7 separate regions of the Homo sapiens genome follow, and all the other regions are linked to region 4. The links are contacts of gene promoters, found by promoter capture Hi-C in human tissues and cell types (Jung and others, 2019). All regions are on one chromosome and are shown on one strand. Each heading gives the region's core, a stretch centred on a gene start or on the middle of the fragment in contact. The rest is flanking DNA. Distances are from core to core; before and after follow the strand shown.

Region 1 (2,700 bases), core at 20-2,519, 440 kb after region 4:
GTAGACTCTCCCTCAAGGAGACTGTGGTCACTGCCACCCTGTATTTTCCAGCAATGGAAGGCACCATACCTTCCTCAACCCACCAAGACAAGGTCTCACTCTGTCACCAAGGCTGGAGTGCAGTGGTGTGATCTCGGCTCACTGCAACCTTTGCCTCCCAGGCTCAAGCCAGCCTCCCACCATAGCCTCCTGAGTGGCTGGGACTACAGGTGCACGCCATCATGTTGGGCTAATTTTTGTATTTATGTATGTATGTATGTATTTTTTTTTTTTTTTTTTTGAGACGGAGTCTTGCTCTGTCGCCCAGGCTGGAGTGTAGTGGTGCGATCTCAGCTCACTGCAAGCTCCGCCTCCCAGGTTCACGCCATTCTGCTGCCTCAGCCTCCCGAGTAGCTGGCACTACAGGCACCTGCCACCACACCCACCTAATTTTTTTTTTTTTTAGTAGAGACGGGGTTTCACCGTTTTAGCCAGGATGGTCTCGATCTCCTGACCTCGTGATCCGCCCGCCTCGGCCTCCCAAAGTGCTGGGATTACAGACGTGAGCCACTGTGCCCGGCCAAAATATGTATTTTTTTTTTAAGAGATGGTGTTTTGCTATGTTGCCCAGGCTGGTCTCAGATTCCTGGGCTCAACTGACCCATCCACTTTGGGATCCCAAAGTGCTGCGATTACAGGCGTGAGCCACCGTGCCCAGCCCACTGTGCATTTTCAATGAAGGGCCAGGAGTAACATGTAATCTCCCGTGCAAATGTCACTTAATGTTAAACAAAAAATATTCCAAACTATGTGGGTTCTGTGTCAGTGATCTGTCCCCAAGACTTCCATCTAAAATCCTAAAAACAAAACAAAACTTAACAAAATAAACCTCATCTCCACTTGAATCAAAATTTAATTTGGTTATGCTGTCACCAGTGTCAGTTGTACTTTACCTGAGGACAGAGGGCTTCTAACTGGCTTGCAGACATTCGAACAAGCTTTACACCTTCTTCATTATTTGAGATGGAACAGGCCAAGTTGGCAACCTATAAACATAAAAAATAATCTTTAAAGATTTTTCTCTTTTGACTGCTAAGGAAAAAACACACACCTGGCCCTACCTCTGACCATTCTGGAACAGATGACAAGGGCACCAAGGGTGCCTCCCTTCTCACAGCCTGATTATTTACTTAGATGAGGACACATTTTTAACTCTACACAAAGCAAACTATACAGACTCATAACATACATCACATTGCAGGTTGGTGGCAAAACCTTGAAAGATCCCAGGGCCTGTAACTCACATGCTTTGCATGGCCTCTAACCCGCCTGAACAGTAACTTCAGAAAAAGGTTCTTCTAGTATGGGCAATAAGGTGAGAAAAGCTGAAGAATCAAGGGCATCAGGAAAGAACTGTTGTTATCCTCAAAAATGTGTTTTGCAGTGTTCTTGAAGGAAGGAAATAAAAAACTCTAAGGTGCTATGCTCATTTGACAGGGAATAGATGCTTAATTTAAGGCAAGATGAATTTTATTTGAACACCAGACAATTTTTCAAACAAAAAAAAATAACATGAAGACAACATCAAGATGGACCAAAGGCAATCATGATCAAAAGTGGAAAAGGAAACTGGTTATGTTTCATAGTTAAAAGCAAAACTGCCCTTCAACTGGGTTCTCAAAAACACTGACAGCTTGAATCTCTCCTGGCTGATGCGGCTTAATTTGAACCGAAATCTTTACCTTCCCGTCCAGCCATCTCAATGATACAGCTCACGTGGCCAGGAACAATCTTTCCAGGTTGTGTCATACTTCCTTTGCTGAAGCTCTGGAATGTTACTGCGTAGTGACTGCTAAGGCTGTGATCACTTATCCATATTTCTAAATGAACAGGCTTGCCAATTCCATTAGCAATATCTGGGCCCAACTGAATACACGGTACTGAGACACATCTTTACCCCAGTTGCAAACTGAGTTATGAATGATAAAGGCGTAGGCAGTTGAATATCAGAGGCACTTTCTGGGAATTTAAATGCTAGAGTAAACAAGGGCAATGGCAATAACCTTTGATTTTCACTCCTCCGCCCAACTTAAGCACATAAACACATCAGAAAAATTATACACTATTACGGCAGTTGTTTGTAGTGCTACAGTTAAGGATTATCAGCTTTCTATAAGACTGCTAACTATCAGAATCCTGCAATGCCCAAACACAAGGAGAAACAAAAGAAGTTAACGTGCAATTTAAACATAAAAATGTAAAGGAACTGGAAAGTCAGATCTCTGATGTTTATGAGTCCTTCAAAGTCACATAAAGAAGCAACACTTATACTCCCTGACACTTACAGTTCCACCTTCTCTGTCATCTGGACCCAAGCAGAGAGACATTTCTTTTCAGGATGACAAATCTACAGAGATGACTGGGGATTTCTATTTGTTTGCTTAAAAAATCACTGCAAAATATGACCTAAGATAAATTTTGTAAAATGTAAGACTTAAAAAAAAAGGAAACAAATATTCATTGAAGGAGAAAGCTTGAATTAGATGTGTTCATGAAGAGTAATCTACAACTTCTATTGCTTCACTGCCTTAAGACGACATTTTGAACAACAAACATAAAATCTGATGATGATCATTGAAAAAATTAGCATTTTGTGACTAACAAAGATCGCTGGTGTACCGGGCACGGTGGCTCATGCCTGTAATCCCAGCACTTTGGGAG
Region 2 (2,700 bases), core at 1-2,500, 460 kb after region 4:
TTTGTTGGCATGTTCACGGAAAACTTGGGCATACTCCTTAACTTCTTTCTCATTTCCATTCTTTGCAGCTTCAATCAATACCAAAAGTGGAACATTGGTTTCCAGGAAAGAATCTGAAACGTGGTCCATGACAGCTTTGCGGAGCTAATGATTAAATTGTAAAAATTTGATTTTATTTCTACCAAAAAGGTATTAAATAGATTGCTTTTTATTCTCTTGTACACTTAAATCTAATGAAGCTTACGGTAGACTTGCTGCACTTACATGAGGACCCCTCATGTAAGCCATGCAGTTACATAATCTACAACACAGGAAACATGATCATGGAGACAATGGTTTACATTACTACAGTTACAGCATTTCAGCAACAGAATCTCAGTTCTTAAGACAATATCCTTTTTTCTTGGGAATTACAAAACTAGGGCTTACAACTTAAATAATACAAAAGCTGAACTGAAAGCAGCTCTGGGTTGAACTGGCACATAGCCTTGGAATATATATATAATTAGCCTAATTGGCTAAATAAAAAGAGAAGAGAGAAAAAAGAGTTATCTGGCTTATCTGAAAGGATTCACACACTATGAACCTTAAAACTTAAGGTTCTCTTTATAACCATTTCTGATACTGCTTCACCAAAAGGAAATTGAATAAAGATATATTTTATCTTTAATTTTGTTTTATATCAGACATAAGCAATAAAATATCTGTCCATTACCTCTTAAAAATTGTCTGTATTACAACTTCTTAAGTCTTAATACATTGCTTTATAAAATCAACTCTAACTTCTTTAAAGACTAAAACTCAATTTGACTCCAAATGTTAATGGGGTCATTTATCATTAAAAGGTTCGATTTCTCTACTCTGTATTTACTAACTCAGAAAATTCAGCACCTCAAATATCTCTATACCTACCATATTTGGAACTGGAAACATTTCACCATGGATCTAAGGGAACTGCAAGTGTGTAATGAGTATAGGGCAAGTCAGATAAACAACTGAAATTTCTGTCTCTATTGTACATAGTCAATACAACAAGATCCTTCAGGATTATTTTCACAGGTCTCCAAGTCATTTTAAATTTATTTTCCTACCTGTACATGCCTTTCACACTAGAGCTAACTTATTCAGTCCAACACAGTGAGACTGTATTATCCCATGTCTTCATGAAATTTGATTAGCCATTAAGAAGCATATTAGCAACAAAACAAAGATAGGCACTTTCTTGTGAAAATCCATCCTTTCTCTCAATAAAAAAATATAAGGCCAGTGCTTATTAGGATTTTAATCAAAACTACAAAATTGAGAACTTAGAAAAACAATCAGCACTTTCATCCAGATTACCTGTCTACGCAAGTCCCTGGTCTTCTTGGTCATTTTATCTATTGCAGAATTGAGTGCATCACTTCTTTCTTTACGTCCAGCCTGGATAAAAGGAAAAGAGATGAGCATTTTATTCATTTACAAAGAAACCTAATGATAGCCTATAGCCATTTGTGCTCATGTCAACACTGAAAAAGCAGTACAACTTCTTAAACTCAAAGTTGGAAAATACTGGGGAGCAGAGGGGTGTTATGTGGCTTTATTCATAAAAACCCAACCTTACAATTCTTGGGCTCCACATTATCTGATGACTGGAATTGAGGGAGTTTTGCCAAAATAAGAGAAGCCAAGAGACAAAGAGCTTTGCTTAAAGTTTGGCTTTTAAAAATTAAATTTATATTTTAACTCAAGGTTCAGCATACACCAATTTTATTAATGAAGCAGCTCTCCTTGAACTGCAGCAAGAACAGGGTACACCTGATTTTGATGAACTCTGAGATCTGAAGAATGTCAAGATGTGAAAAATGGGACCTGGCACTGAAACAATGTGAAACAACAAATTTAAAAACTAAGATGTACCTGATAGGTCAGAGCTAATAATGTTTATTATGCAGCTCAAATCATAATGCTTTGTAGGATTACTTTGGTCACTTTAAAAAAATCCTAGACTAAGCTTTAATGCAGTTATATTGCACAGAAAAGAACCCGCTAGTCACTCTTGAAGTGGTATGTAAAACAGCATGTCTTCAGAGGTCAAGGTGCTGAGTCGAGATTTGCCAGGGTAACATTCTAAGCAGAATCAAATGGAATAAAATAGCAGTTGAAAGAAAAGGAACAAAAGTCTTTTTTTAAATCCCAGGTGGAGATTGTTGTGTCCCTGGAAATGCCTACATCATGTAGGTTAAACTATAAAGTATATATAAAGTATATTAAAAGCTTGTTTTCGCAAAACAAATACGGTTCTTTCTGAAAAACATGTCAGCAAATAATAGGAGAGATACAAATGAACAAAGGAATTTAGCCCATTGTTCTCCCTTTGGATGCCCTCAAGACATTTTGGTATGGGTATGCTCTTAGTACACAAGCCAGTAGAGCAGATGAATGGTTAGGAATGGGGAGATCTGTTTACTAAGTGCCTTTAATGTACATTTGTTATTCACTTTATCTCTTATCCCTTACCTGTCAATTGTGGAAAATGCCACCTATCTCTCTATGGACTGTTAGAAATATTGAGGGATATAGGTTATTTAGCAAAGGGCAGAAAGGAGACAACAGGGAATAGTAAGAGTTGAAATATAAGTAAAATTGATATGATCACTATCAAATCTGGTTATGGTCTCATTCCTTAAGCCTTTCCCCCTAGCACTCTTGTACTGCCAA
Region 3 (2,700 bases), core at 124-2,623, 490 kb after region 4:
CTACATAGATAATACAGTAAGATGTACTATTATTAGTATTAATTATTTGTTAAATAGAAGTATCCTCAACATTATACAGAACAGTCAATAACAGAGCACCTAGACTAAGGCCACTCGATCTGACTTGGTTGAAAAACAATTCAAACATGAAAGAAGCCAAAGTGATTATATTCTAGACATGTGAGCTTCATAGAGTTCATTGCAATTAAGGGACTATAAGCTGATGCCATAGTACAGTGAATAGAAATAGAGGCATCCAGGATTAAATATCTAAGAAAGAAGAAGGAAGGCAAAGATAGAAGACAGGGAGAGCACAAATTGCGGATGGTTTGGCCAAAAGAGGGCATGTGGAATCAGACTGGGTAGCCATAAGAGCAAAGTAAATAAACATTAGGAAAACATTGTTTTAGAGGAAAAAAACAAAATAAGTGTAGGTCAGCAAATTATCATAGTAAAACCTATTTCACAATCAAGTATAATAACTTTCCATATAAGTCAAAAGACACAAAAATCTTAAGAGAGAGAGTGTGTGTGTGTGTGTGTTTTATTGTATCTACAAAAAATATTTCTGGAAGATACACAAGAAACTGTAAGAAGAGAAACTGAATGGCTAGGTAACAGGGATGAGAGGCAATGCTCATTAGATACTCTTTTAGACCCCTTTAAGCCATGTAAATGCACTGCCTATTTTAAGAATTAAAAAAAAAAACTTTTTATCAGGTATAAGGAAATGCAACTGTAAGGATCTCAGTTCAACAACAGACCTTTTTCAAAACAAGAACCCTATGAAAGCCAGCAAATGAATTGCTCTCCTATTACTCTTTAGTTTTCTGAAGCAAATAACCATTAATCCAATGAGTAAGTTCATAGATAACATCTGATGGCAACTGTTCACATCTCCTGAAGTGGAGTGATGATACCAGCCAGCGCACGTGCCTCACTTCAAAGTCAGCCCTGCTTAACTATAAAGATTTTCCTAATAAGATTTTTCTCTTCAGAGGTTTAAGAGCTCTAAAGACAGAGAATGTTATAACATGAAAGGGAAAGAGAACTTCTAGACCTCACACTGCCTGTCCTACCGTCTTTGTTTTTGTTTTTGTTTTTTAAATACATAGGCTATGCCTAGGTTTACTGTTTTTGGTTAATTATTCAACCAGTTCTAGGGTGTGTAAATTCTCTTAAACAATGAGATAGTGGGTTTGTTAAAACAAAAACAACAAAACCCTATTCATAATAGCTTTTTCCTCTAGTGCTAATTTTAAAAAAAAATAGAGAGGAAATACAACTTATAAAAAATGAACATGAAACTACATGAATAGTTACAGTATTCAAATAAACAGTCTACTTCAAATGCAATCACCAAATAAAGCCAAAACCAGTAGGAAAGAATAATCAAGAAATTTTATACAGAGATGCCTATACAAAACTCAATTCAGAGAATGAACACTGACGATCAGAGCCATGCTTCCCCATGCCAGATAACTCAGAATTAACAATAAAGAAGTATGCCAGGCAGGGCAAGGTGGCTCACGCCTGTAATCCCAGCAATTTGGGAGGCCGAGGCAGGCATATCATGAGGTCAGGAGTTCGAGACCAGTCTGACCAACATGGTGAAACCTTGTCTCTACTAAAAATACAAAAATTAGCTGGGTATGATGGTGCATACCTGTAATCCCAGCTACTCAGGAGGCTGAGGCAGGAAATCACTTGAACCCAGGAAGTGGAGGTTGCAGTGAACCAAGCTCACGCCACTGCACTCCAGCCTGGGCGACAGAGAGAGACTCTATCTCAAAAAAAAGTATGCCAGGCCCAATCAAAATGCACATTTTAATAGTAAAGAGAGCATATTATGAATCTAGGAATAAAGCTACCAACTTCAGGCAAGACAGTTAAGACAAATGGAGAGCAATAAAATAAGCTATGCAGCACAGTCAACAGGGACACAGTCTTTAGACATTATTATCAGAATACACATGTAAAAGGGAAAATTCTCCAAATGTATTTGACCATGACTGTAAAAGAAGAGAGAAGAAAAGGGGGAGCAGAGAGAGAACTAAGCTCTTGGAGGAGAATGATAAATGCAATGGCTCTATGAAACTACTGGAAATCAGAAGAGCTAAAAAAACAAACAAACAAAAAAAAGAGGACTTAAAGTGTGAACAATTCAAATATAAATTATTAGTTATAGCAATGTTAATAGTAACACTAGTATTAACAGCAGTGGTTGTGCCTTACATGACTCTTTTCTATACACTTGCAACCATGATGGGTGCATAGGCACCATTATCATCCCCAGTTCCCAGTTGAGGAAACATAGACTTGGGAAAGCTTAGGTAACTTTTCATGCTCAGTGCAGCTGTCAAGACTAGAACAGTCTCTCCATAGAAAATCCCTTCAATAACAAATTTATCTTTATGCCAACAGCATATATGCATTAGTAAATGTAGTTCAAACATCTCTGGAAGGAAAGCAAAGCTTCAAATTAGGTAGAATTTATTACCCAAGAAGCAAGACCCCTGAATCTCAGCTAGGTAAAGAAGAACTTAAAGAAACAGAGGTGCCACTTGATTTATCTCTAGAAACACAGGTAATTATAAGTGCTCCCAACAAGTTCAAAACTAACAAAAGATATACTGGCCTATACAATCTCTGCTACTTTCAGCTTTTACTCAGTACCACATAAAGAAACACAAACTTAAT
Region 4 (2,700 bases), core at 157-2,656:
AAAAGTTTTATTCAAGTTCACAACTGACAAGTAGTATAAACAGACTAATTTTCCCCAAATATCCTGTCTTTCACTAACTGGAAACAGAATCACAAAAGCAAATAGTGGAGTCTCATTAAAAATTATTGTAGAGAACTTTTACTTATTGCAAACACAACCTACGCCAGAAGAAATTTCAAAAGCGACTTAATGAAAATATAAACCAACACCTGATCTAACTGTGCTAATGAAATCTGTGAAAAAACAATGCCACCACGTTTCAACATTAGCCAGCACACCCAACATGAACATCTACTTTCCGTTGAAATAAACGTCAAAGGCTGTCAGCTGCTACACCTTCCAAGGCAAATTGGAAGCCAAATTCTTTCTAGAGTTTGGGGTTTTTATGAGTTGATACGGGTGCCAAATCAGGGAAAAAAGAAACAAAAGGAAGCAGGTAAGACCCCTTTTAGGAGTCCCTAAAAAATATCACTGCTGGCTGCTGCAACAAATGTTTTGAAGACCTAAGTTCACCACAAGCCTTATTTATTTCTGGTGGCGATGGTGGGGAAGGAGGAGAGTAAGCACAGAAAATTATTAAAAGGTAAGAGGACCTTAAAGTTCATCTAACTCAACGCCCTCCTAGGGTAAGGGTTCCCAGTACCCCAAAGGTTCTTTTTTCCAGGGCATGAGCTGCAATACAACCAAAAATAAGGGGTAGCGATGGCGAAGAAACGGGAGAAAGACGATCTTCTGATCAGGCCCGTCGACGGTTGCAGCGTTCCCCCAAGACGCCAAGAGCCCGCCAGTCCCTCCGCCCCTCTCTCCCCAAACCCCAGCCTCGGCTGAGGCGCGCACGCGCAGCAAGTAGGGGCTGCGCGTGGCGACGCGCAGGCGTAAAGTGGGTAGAAACAATAAGCTTTGTTGCCGAGGCGGTGGGAGGGGGGCAGGGGAAAGGGTACCCGGCGGAGGGATAAAGGACCGGGAGAATGAGGAACAGGAGAAAGTGCTATCCCGGCAACCCTCGCGCCACTGAGGACCCGGATAGAGAGCTGCGAGATCCAAATCATTAATAATGACAATGAAAAAAAAGCGACGGCCATGTCTCGGAGAAGACAGAGACGAAGTCGGCCCAAGCTCATCCCTCAGACTTGGTGGAAAGAGGCAATGAACAACGGAGGCCGCAATGGACTCGGTGGCCAACCACCCAGGGAACCCTTTAGGCCCCTCTGCCGTCGCCGACTTGCTGTCCCTCGACCTCCGCACCCCTGTCGCCACTCTGCCCGAGAGGACCCCTCACCCAATGCACAGCAGCGGGGACGGCAGCCAACGAATCCTGTCGGCCTCCGCGGATCTCCACAGGCAGCGCCGCTCCCCCGCTCGACGTGCGCTTCGCCCGCCGCCTCCCTTCTCCAGTCCAAACAAACACCCCAGCCCGGAAGTGACTTCACTTCCGTCGCCGCCAACCCCGCCCTCTTGTTCTGTCAGCTCTGCCCTCCGAAGCCACTAGAGAGCGCGCGCGAGAACGCGCGACCCCGAAGTCTGTCTCCAAGGCTGCACACGTGTGCACGCGCAGCAGCCTTTCCAGCGCGCCCCTACGGCCGGCTGCCGGGTGTAGCAGGAACGCTGTCGCACGTTCTCTCTGGAAGGCAGGAATGGGGGCGTACCACTGTTCCCACACCCGCCCATCTTCCGAGAATGATGATATGCAATGAGTGAGGCAGCTGGGGACTGAAGAGCACCCTGACAAGATACACAGGCGTGGACTTTCACAGACATCACACACCCCCCCAAAAACGTAATATTTAGGTAATGACATAGCACACACATACCCATACACACCCCAAGAATGATACACAATGTCACACAAACAGCGACATGCACCGAGTCACGTCAAGATCCTGACACAGAAAAATAATAAACTAAGGGAAATCACAGAGGCGTACTAAATGATATGCAAACATCCGCACTCAGACATGTGCAGGCACAAAAACACACTTTTTGAAGCTGGATGCAAACGCAAAATACAAATACATGTGCAACTTCTTTGTGGCTAAAGGAGGAAATGCCCTGTCCACACAGGATAGAAAAGTGTGACCTCCGGGTTCAAGAATTTTGTAGTCCGTGATCCTGGGTGCACTGGCCCCATAGTTATTCTTACCCATGCTTCCTTCCTGTCATCGTTGACAAGCCCCAAGATATATTTCTAGTGACACTAAGCAATGTAAAGAAGAGAGTATGTTTTTGTTTTTTTGTTTTGTTTTGTTTTTTTGAGGCGGAGTCTGGCTCTCTTGCCCAGGCTGGAGTGCAGTGGCGCCATCTCGGCTCACTGCAACCTCCGCCTCCCGGGTTCAAGAGATTCTCCTGCCACAGCCTCCCAAGTAGCTGGGACTACAGGCGCACGCCAGCACACCCGGCCAATTTTTGTACTTTTAGTAGAGATAGGGGTTTCACCGTGTTGGCCAGGATGGTCTCGATCTCCTGACCTCGTGATCCACCCGCCTCCGCCTCTCAAAGTGCTAGGATTACAGGTGTGAGCCACCGCACCCGGCCGAGAGTATGTGTTTTACAAATCTGGATGTTCAAATGTGTAGATACTATCTTTGAAAAAGGGACACAAACTAATTTCTTCCCTTTGGAGAGGGCAAATGACCGACTAGGAAATGGGTGCAAATAACTATCCTTTTCTCCTGAAAAATTTGAATCTTTTAAAAACTATAT
Region 5 (2,700 bases), core at 72-2,571, 400 kb after region 4:
GTACCTGCTGCCTTTACAGCCTCGCAGGAGTCTTCGAAGTAGATTTTACAGATGAGGAAATCATGGCTCAGAGAGGCCAAGTGATCTGCCTGTGGGGGCAGCAGTGGGCCTGCGGTGCTGATGGTGCTGTGGGAGGCTTGAATGGGAGGCCAAGAAGGGGACGATGTTGAACTGACAGGCAGCGGAGGGAGGACCACGAGAAATGGCCGGGCATGTGTGGCCACAACAGGGCAGGCAGGTTTCAGACAGGAGGTGCCAGCGCCTGGATGAGGCCAAGGTCAAGGGGTGCTTTAGAGGTAGTGTTGGAAGATCTAGCGTAGACTTGAGAAAGGGGCAAGGTGAGGTTTGATGGGGAGAGGGGCTGCCTCAGCAGAGGCTTGGAAGACAGGAGGACTTGGGGCTGGGCTGGGGATGAATCTATTCTAGGCTTTCAGCATTCAGAGGTGAGCACCAAGGCTGGACAGTGGGAACAGTGGACAGGCGAGAGTGTGGGGCCTTGTGGGGAGGCCAGGCCGGGCGCTCGGCTGTGTCAGGACCAGGCTGGCCCTGGAGGCCTCTGTGACCACCAGGGTCTGGCCCGGGGTGTGGAAAGCGTCCCTATGGGAGGAGTGCCACTAGTAGGGGCCTAACTGCAGTCCCCAGTGTCCCCTCTGCCCCCAGGTGTGCTGCCCTCAGCAGCGATTCTGTAAAGCAGAGGGAGGCTTTGGGCCAGGTGCTCTTGAGAGGATTTCTGGGAGCGAGGATGGAGGAACGGGCACCTGGGGGCTGTAGGGAGGGGGCTGGACCAGCGCCAGGCTGCTGAGCCCGAGGCCTGGGAGGTGGGACTGCGTGCACTCTGCCCTCACACACTCAGAGCATCGGAATGGGAGTTGGGCTGCAGTCTCTCTCCTCATTGGCCGCATCCAGGTTCGTTCTGGACTGTTAAGCAGACCCTCCAGGGAGAGGGTGGCGAGGCGCCCCAGGGTCTGGGCTTGGGCTGCTTGGGGGTGGGTTCTGGCTCCGCCTCCTGATTCATCGCGGCTTGTTGTCTGCAGGTCAGGAAGGAACCCCTTCTCTGCCTTCCCTTTGGCTGCCATCCTGGGAACTGTGGTCAAGGAGTGTGACCGGGGCTCGAAGTGAGGCAGGGAGTGGTGACGGGGGAGGTGGGACTTCCTCCTGTGGGGCTGGAGCCTGCTTTCCTGTCCTCACTGTCTTGGGATGGGCTGAGAGGTGTGCTGGGCTGACACCCACAGGCCCTCAGTGATTATTGGGTCCCTGCTCCTGGGCTGGGCTGACCCGGGCCCTAGTGTGGGAGGATGGCAGGGAGGGTGGTGGGCCTAGGTCCTCACCCCATCCCTCAGCAGCTGTGGTTTTATGAGTTCACTTGTTCATTCATTATTTCATTCACACTGTGGCTGTTGAGCAGTCGTGTGTGTCAGGCAGTTGGAGCTGAGAAGTCTGCTGAGCTGGGTGAAGCCAAGGAAAGGCCTCCCAGAGCTGGTGATGGCCAGGCTAAGCCCTGCAGGCTGCAGGAGTAGCAGTCAGGGATGGGCAGTTGGAAGGGCCAGTCTGGGGCAGGCAGGGCAAGGGCTCTGGCCCTGGGAAGATACAGGAAGGCCAGAGAGTGGCCATTTGCAGAATCCACAATTTCGGGTCCTCCGGCAGCTTGTCAGCCCTGCCAAGGGCTGTGCCCTCATCCTAGCAGGTGTTCTCTGGGCTGCTGCTTATTCATTCATTTGTTCAACAAATCTGGTTGGGTACTACGAGCCAGGCACTGTTCTAGGGCAGGAAGTGGTAGGACAGGAGGGGAGAGGGCTGGACCATGATAAATACACATGCTTCAGGGGAGGGCCAGGCAAGGAAGACAGAGCCCAGTGGGAAGGGAAGAGGGGTAGGCACTGCTGTTTCCCCTCAGTGGTGGGGAAGGCCTCTGAGGAGGGGCCAGGCACAGGAGCGCAGCAGTGAGCCATGGGGGTGCTTTGTAGACAAGGGGATAGCAGAGGCAAAGGTCCTGCAGGAACAGGCCAAAGCACTTCAGGAAAAGCCATGAGAACCAGGCCTGGAGCAGGCAGAGACCGAGGGAGGAGTTGCAAGGGAGGGCCGCCTGGGGAGGCTGTGGAAGGGACCTGGGATTTTCTTTGAGGTGGGGCTGTTGAGAGTTGGGTGCAGAGGAGAGACCTGATGTAACCCACCTTTTTCTTTTTGAGACAGGGTCTTGTTCTGTCACTCAGGCTAGAATGCAGTGGTGTGACCATGGCTCACTGCAGCCTTGACCTGCTAGGCTCAAGTGGTCCTCCCACCTCAGCCTCCAAAGTAGCTGGGACCACAGGTGCAAGCTGTCACGCCCAGCTAATTTTTTTCATTTTTTTGTAGAGGTCTCCCTATGTTTTCCAGGCTTGTCTTGAGCTCCTGGGCTCAAGCGATCCTGCTGCCTCAACCTCCCAAAGTGCTGGGATTACAGGTGTGAGCCCCTGTGCCCGGCCTCACCTTTTCTTACTGTTGTGGTGAGAATAGATGACACAGGGGCCAGGAGGGGCAGGGAGCCCAGGGCAGCATCCAGGGGGCAGCTGGACAAGGATGTGGGGCAGGGTGAAGACATAGGACTGTGAGAAGTGTGCAGACTCCAGATGGGGCTGAGGCAGAGCTCAGGGCTCTGCTGGCGGGATGCAGGGTGTGGGGAGAGGAGTCGAGGGGATGGAGCAGATGGGCGTGGGGAGGAGC
Region 6 (2,700 bases), core at 1-2,500, 420 kb after region 4:
ATTAAATGCAGTATTTTACGACTCAAATCATCTTTTTCTCTGCAACAGAGATTGGATGGTTGAGAACTTGAAGTGAGACTAACTTGAAGCCTTGCTTAAGAATGGGACCTACCTTAATTTAGTCTTTACTCACTAATAGGAGATTTAACTCAGAAATTCATCTTAAATCGTGTGTTTAGAATTAGTCCCGTGATTACTCATGAGATACAGATGAAGAAAATATGCTTGTGAGGCCTGAATTTGGCTATGACCAGCTTCTCAGGAGCCCGATGTGCCATGAGACCAAATCTGAGTTCCCAACTCCTCCTTCCTCACCACAGGGCTGGGCTAATGGGGTGGCCTGCCTCACTGAGGCTGCGGTGTGTGCGAGCACTGGAAAGGGAGAGTTCCCGTACCTGTGTTGGAGAGCAGCTTAGTGGCTTCCAGAACCTTCTCTGTGTAGACTCCTGGCTCATAGTTGTCCATCTCTGAGGTGACTACGTGAATGACCCGGGCTGCCCGGCCTCGAATTGCACCAGCTGTGCGGTCCAGGCCATCCACATCCTTCTCTTGGAGAGCAATGACACATTTGTTCACATCTTCCAAAATGTGATTCTCTGGAGAACAAGCAAAAAGTTGAATGAGGAAGGAGGCTTTCTATGAAAAGGTGGCAACTGTAAGCTGGCATCTATCATTTATTGTTTGCTTGGTGCCAGCCACAGTGCTGAAAGTTTTACATATACTTCATTGGAGAGACCAGTGACTAGTGACAGAGACAGAAACTAAACCTGTTATCACCCCCAAGAATAACAATCTTCATTCCAGGTTTTTAAAAAAAAAAAAACAAAAAATAAAAAACACACACAAAAAAAACAGGAGACATGCCCATCTTTGAGACACAGCTGTTCTGTAATTTTCTGGCAGAAAATTATCATAGAAGCATCAATAACTTATCTTCCTCTAGCTTCACTGACTCTATGTCCCAAATAAAGGAAAGGCTAAATTAGAACAAAAGTCCACTGTCCCCTCTCCCTCTCCTTCCAGGAGATGCTGATGATATTCAGACAATCTACCAAGAAGCCAGTACAGCCCTGGGATAGGAGAAGGTGCTGGAAAGCAGGTTGAAGCCTCCTCTAGAGGACCCTGAGGTGTGAGATGAACTATTTAATAACCCTCTTCATGGTACACAGATGGGCTTATTGTGATATTTGAAGGGTCCCTAGAGGTGAAAACCCCTGACTCCTATGAAGCTGATGGGTGGCTCCTAACAGTCATACAGCTGAATTTGGGCAACACACCAAAACTATTTTTCCTCAAAGCAAAAAGCCTGACACTATAAATTTTTAGGAACCCCACCACAAAGGGTTTGCTCGAACTCATCTGTAGTAACAACGTGAAAGCAACCAAAATCTCCAAGAGAAGGGTGGATAAATGAATTATGGGAACTATGCAGCCATTAAAGTGGATGATACAGATCTAGAGGCTGAGGCGGGAGGATGGCTTGAACCCAGGAGGCAGAGGTTGCAGTGAGCCAAGATCGCGCCACTGCATTCCAGCCTGGGCAACAGAGTGAGACTCTGTCTCAAAAACAAAAGCCAAAACAAACAAAAAACACCTTTCCAGGGAAGGCCAGGAAACAGTAAGAATTCTTATTAGAGAAGGGAAAACTAGATTACTGCAATATAGTTAAGACCATATTTTGGTCTCTATTAATTACAAATTATGAGACTTGCCAGGGTTTATACCACTGAACTAATGAAAAGAGTAAACATATTAAACTTCTAACATAAACACATTTTAAGAGGGATATTTAAACCAATTACAAGAATAAATGGATTTGGAGCCCATCACAAGCATTTTTAAAATATATAAACTCTAATAATTCAAGCTAAACAAATGTACTGAGCAGGACTACCATACGAGGTCTTGGGTTAAAAACTGCTGCTTTACTGGATCTAACACAATACCGTTAAGATGAAACTTGCATTGCTAAGGAAAGGAAAGGAATACAATTGAAAGAAATCATGTTGATAGCAAAACTAAGAACCAGTGTTTTCTCATATCATTGATTTTAAGACTCATCCCTATTTCAGAATCAATGAAGTATGGCATTCCTTTCCGTTCAAAAGTGACCCAAACTTCCACCAAGGATTTTTTAACCTTTGTCTAGATACTTCTACGGTTTTTTTTTTTTTTAATCCATTTAGACTTTCTTGAATTCATCCTGGCCGCCTTCTAGATGAACCTAAACCAGGAAAGAGTGTGCCATTTTTTAGAGTAATATTCCCCACTTCAGGAAGCTGACCAAAGTAATATTCTCTACCCTCATGAAACACTTGTCTCTAGGAAAGCCCCAGCCTCGCTGAGGCTACCACACACCCAGGACAGAGCACCCAGCCTGCTCTCCACAACTGAACCTGATGGGGGGAGGTGCGAGTCCACTGTTCAACAGAGGGGGACAGGCTCTGCCCACACTTAACTGAAACCATACATCATTTTAGCTAAGGAAACAGCATAGGTCCACTATGAGTAGACACAACAATCTGTACCCATGAACAACTGTTCAATACATTATTTATAGGTGTGCTTCTAATAGAAAAAAATTCATACACATACATATAACAGTCCATACAAAATACAGACAACTATATGTAAATGAATATAAAAGGAATTATATTATGGACACTATTGTATCTTTTTCACTTGAAAACCTTTCTAGGT
Region 7 (2,700 bases), core at 151-2,650, 470 kb after region 4:
TTCTCATTTAAAAGCAAAAACCTCCCTTTTTAATTGCCTGTAGAAGGCAAGATTTTCTTTCATTTTTGTCCATTTGTGTTTCAGAATCAGCACAGGTTTGAAGATTAGACTGTTAGTCATCTGTGCTTTCTTTACCAACTGGCTAGAACGGAACAGCATCACAGCAACGCTGCGGATCTTGGTTACACAGTGTCAGAGCTTTTGTTTTTTGATGGGGTTTTATCCTCTTCACCACCACTACCCACTCCATTTTTTTTCTATTTTTAAGATTAGAGGAAAATGACCATTAAGAACCAGAAAAATAATTAATCTCTCTGGAAAAAGGAAAGCTAAAGAAGACTATGATACCATACCCATCTAGAAACCAAGAACTAGTTTGAAATCGTTTATATTCATTTCTGTAGCATGACAGGGATTTCAATCACCTTTCTGAAAAGAGTGGGCTGATAAACTTGTAAATCCACACACAACTCTGAGAATACCCACTGCCAGCATCAAAAAGCAAAGATACTAATTTTTTAAGCCAAAAATCTGTACTAACACATGTAATTTCTTAATGTGCCTAAGTTAATTTCTGTATCAATTCAATAAATGGAATTGACTGAACTTCCCAACGCCACTAATTATTAAAATCCATCTGCTTATTCTAATGCTAGTCACCAAGAGCTAGACTCCATCTTTCCAATAAAAATGAGCCCTATGTAGCACTAGGTTTGAATTCTAAAATTCAAAACAGGCATTTCATTTTCTTAAGGCACACTTCCTACACACAGCTATCAGGGGAAAAAGCTATAAATGTCCTGTTCTTTTTCTGAAGTGTGGATATCAATATAAAATTTGTTAAAGAATATTTTTAACAGCTGACTTACATGATCGTTTTCCTAATACAGGAATACAGCGACAGACCTATCTGAAAAGTCTGTTTGGGGGCATACTTTTCATATCTTATTGACTAAAGCCCTTGAGCCAGGAAAAAAAAAAAAAAAGAGAGAGAGACAGTAAGGCCATCTATAGATAATTAAATATTTCTCTATCTAACCTGGGGCAAACTCATAGTACTTGAATAAGGCCAAAAACAAATAGAAAATTACTGTTTAAGCTTTCATTCTGCTATTGCAAACATTTGGAAACCTCTGCAACTCTTTCAACTAACATTTTTGTCCTTAGCGGTTTTTTTTTTTTTTTTTAAGTCTGATATATGGAATGTTTGGTGAACCTTCCTATCAACACTGAGACTGGAAACTCAAAGTACAGTCCAAATACATTGTGTTCAATCACCTTCAAGAGCCATTTTTCTTTTTGGGTGGGAGGTGGGCAGATGGGTTGAGGGTGGGAAGAAAATACTATTATGCAGGGTGTTTTGGGAGGGGGGAGGGTAACATAAAGAGCAGTGTACAGGCAAGTTTTGTTATTAAAATTGTGTATACTGTAAAAAGTGAATGCCTTCTTTTTACTTTTCCTTGATAACCTATCAATTTTGACATGTGAAACTTGAAAAGCCATTTGTGACAGACATAGAAATCTTAAATGAACAGTTGTTTTATTCCATGTTCCTCTACAATGTCAAATGTGTCCACTGAAAAAAGGGGCAGCTAATCATTACCTGTCTTCAGAGAGAGGTAAAACTAGGATAAGAAGAAAGTAAAGGTAAAGTGGTGAGAAGGGAGAGTGCCTAAAAAGCTGTCATGCAGTAAGAAGCTGCTCTGTCAAGAGCCTGAGCAAGTGGACAAACAACTGTCCCAGGCTCACAGGGCATGGAGTTGGCTGCCCCTCTCTGAATCCTCCATTACAGTGAACTAACACCACAGAGAGCTTCGGAAAGGTACCAATTGCCTGTATCTAGCCAACAGCGACTTGGCCTCTACCTTGGGGGTTGGTTGATGTCCATCCCAGCAGCACCTTCCATGCCACTCCTAGGAGGGAGGTCCCACAGGTGCTTACACACTAGGACCATGAAGATCCCTACATGACCTCCTCCACCCTGGATGACGACTCAGTGAGTACAGATGGGAAAAGGAAGGGAAGATTTTAAACTACAATTGACCCTTGAACAACACTGGGGTTAGGGGTGCCAACCCCCTGCTCCACACAGTCGAAAATCTGCATAACTTTTGACTTCCCAAAAATTTTTATTAATAGCTACTGCTGACTAGAAGCATTACTGATAACATAAACGGTCAGTCCATATTAGATAACACATATTTAATACCGTCAGTCAAAATAATACATATTTTATATGTTATATGTATGATATATGGTATTCTTACAAAAATAAGCTGGAGAAAAGAAAATGTTATTAAGAAAATCATGGTGGGGCATGGTGGCTCACGCCAGTAATCCCAGTACTTTGGGAGGCTGAGGTGGGTGGATCACCTGCGGTCAAGAGTTTGAGACCAGTCTGGCCAATAAGGCGAAACCCTGTCTCTACTAAAAACACAAAAATTAGCCAGGCAACCTGGTATGCGCCTGTAATCCCAGCTACTCGGGAGGCTGAGGCAGGAGGATTGCTTGAACCCGGAGGTGGAGGTTGCAGTGAGCTGAGATCATGCCACTGCACTCCAGTCTGGGTGACAGAGTGAGACTCCATCTTAAAAAAAAAGAAAAAAAAAAAAAGAAAGAAAGAAAATCATAAGAGAAAATACATTTATCATTAAGTGGAACTGGATCACCATAAAGGCCTTCATCCTTCTTGTTGTCTTC

Evidence for each region. The method cuts DNA at HindIII sites, captures the fragments that hold promoters and counts their contacts. A contact is called where the count stands out against the background at its distance.
Region 1: a fragment that was not itself captured here is called in contact with the fragment with the promoter of PAIP2 in region 4 in 2 of the 25 tissues and cell types used here (adrenal gland and hippocampus).
Region 2: a fragment that was not itself captured here is called in contact with the fragment with the promoter of PAIP2 in region 4 in 3 of the 25 tissues and cell types used here (aorta, heart left ventricle and hippocampus).
Region 3: a fragment that was not itself captured here is called in contact with the fragment with the promoter of PAIP2 in region 4 in 3 of the 25 tissues and cell types used here (IMR-90 fibroblasts, dorsolateral prefrontal cortex and lymphoblastoid cells).
Region 5: a fragment that was not itself captured here is called in contact with the fragment with the promoter of PAIP2 in region 4 in 1 of the 25 tissues and cell types used here (dorsolateral prefrontal cortex).
Region 6: a contact is called between a fragment that was not itself captured here and the fragment with the promoter of PAIP2 in region 4, in 1 of the 25 tissues and cell types used here (dorsolateral prefrontal cortex).
Region 7: a fragment that was not itself captured here is called in contact with the fragment with the promoter of PAIP2 in region 4 in 1 of the 25 tissues and cell types used here (hippocampus).

Annotation. Positions count from the first base shown.
Region 1 is chr5:138,902,674-138,905,373 of GRCh38, reverse strand. CTNNA1 (catenin alpha 1) reads right to left here. Exons shown (of 18, transcript NM_001903.5): 10 at 933-1,025. Among named protein-coding and RNA genes, the nearest start is that of LRRTM2, 29 kb to the right of the region's middle. The HindIII fragment of the contact is 6,719 bases long and covers 1-2,700 here.
Region 2 is chr5:138,884,934-138,887,633 of GRCh38, reverse strand. It overlaps CTNNA1 (catenin alpha 1), which reads right to left. Exons shown (of 18, transcript NM_001903.5): 8 at 1,342-1,422; 9 at 1-144. Among named protein-coding and RNA genes, the nearest start is that of LRRTM2, 11 kb to the right of the region's middle. The HindIII fragment of the contact is 4,201 bases long and covers 1-2,700 here.
Region 3 is chr5:138,847,833-138,850,532 of GRCh38, reverse strand. All of the region lies in intron 7 of CTNNA1 (catenin alpha 1), which reads right to left. Among named protein-coding and RNA genes, the nearest start is that of LRRTM2, 26 kb to the left of the region's middle. The HindIII fragment of the contact is 5,446 bases long and covers 1-2,700 here.
Region 4 is chr5:139,340,560-139,343,259 of GRCh38, reverse strand. It overlaps PAIP2 (poly(A) binding protein interacting protein 2), which reads right to left and starts at 1,406. Exons shown (of 4, transcript NM_016480.5): 1 at 1,280-1,406. The HindIII fragment of the contact is 8,924 bases long and covers 1-2,700 here.
Region 5 is chr5:138,943,044-138,945,743 of GRCh38, reverse strand. No RefSeq gene overlaps it. Among named protein-coding and RNA genes, the nearest start is that of LRRTM2, 69 kb to the right of the region's middle. RefSeq lists a silencer at 1,335-1,547. The HindIII fragment of the contact is 6,636 bases long and covers 1-2,700 here.
Region 6 is chr5:138,922,406-138,925,105 of GRCh38, reverse strand. CTNNA1 (catenin alpha 1) reads right to left here. Exons shown (of 18, transcript NM_001903.5): 12 at 396-596. Among named protein-coding and RNA genes, the nearest start is that of LRRTM2, 48 kb to the right of the region's middle. The HindIII fragment of the contact is 9,713 bases long and covers 1-2,700 here.
Region 7 is chr5:138,867,661-138,870,360 of GRCh38, reverse strand. All of the region lies in intron 7 of CTNNA1 (catenin alpha 1), which reads right to left. It overlaps LRRTM2 (leucine rich repeat transmembrane neuronal 2), which reads left to right. Exons shown (of 2, transcript NM_015564.3): 2 at 1-1,440. Among named protein-coding and RNA genes, the nearest start is that of LRRTM2, 6.3 kb to the left of the region's middle. The HindIII fragment of the contact is 6,536 bases long and covers 1-2,700 here.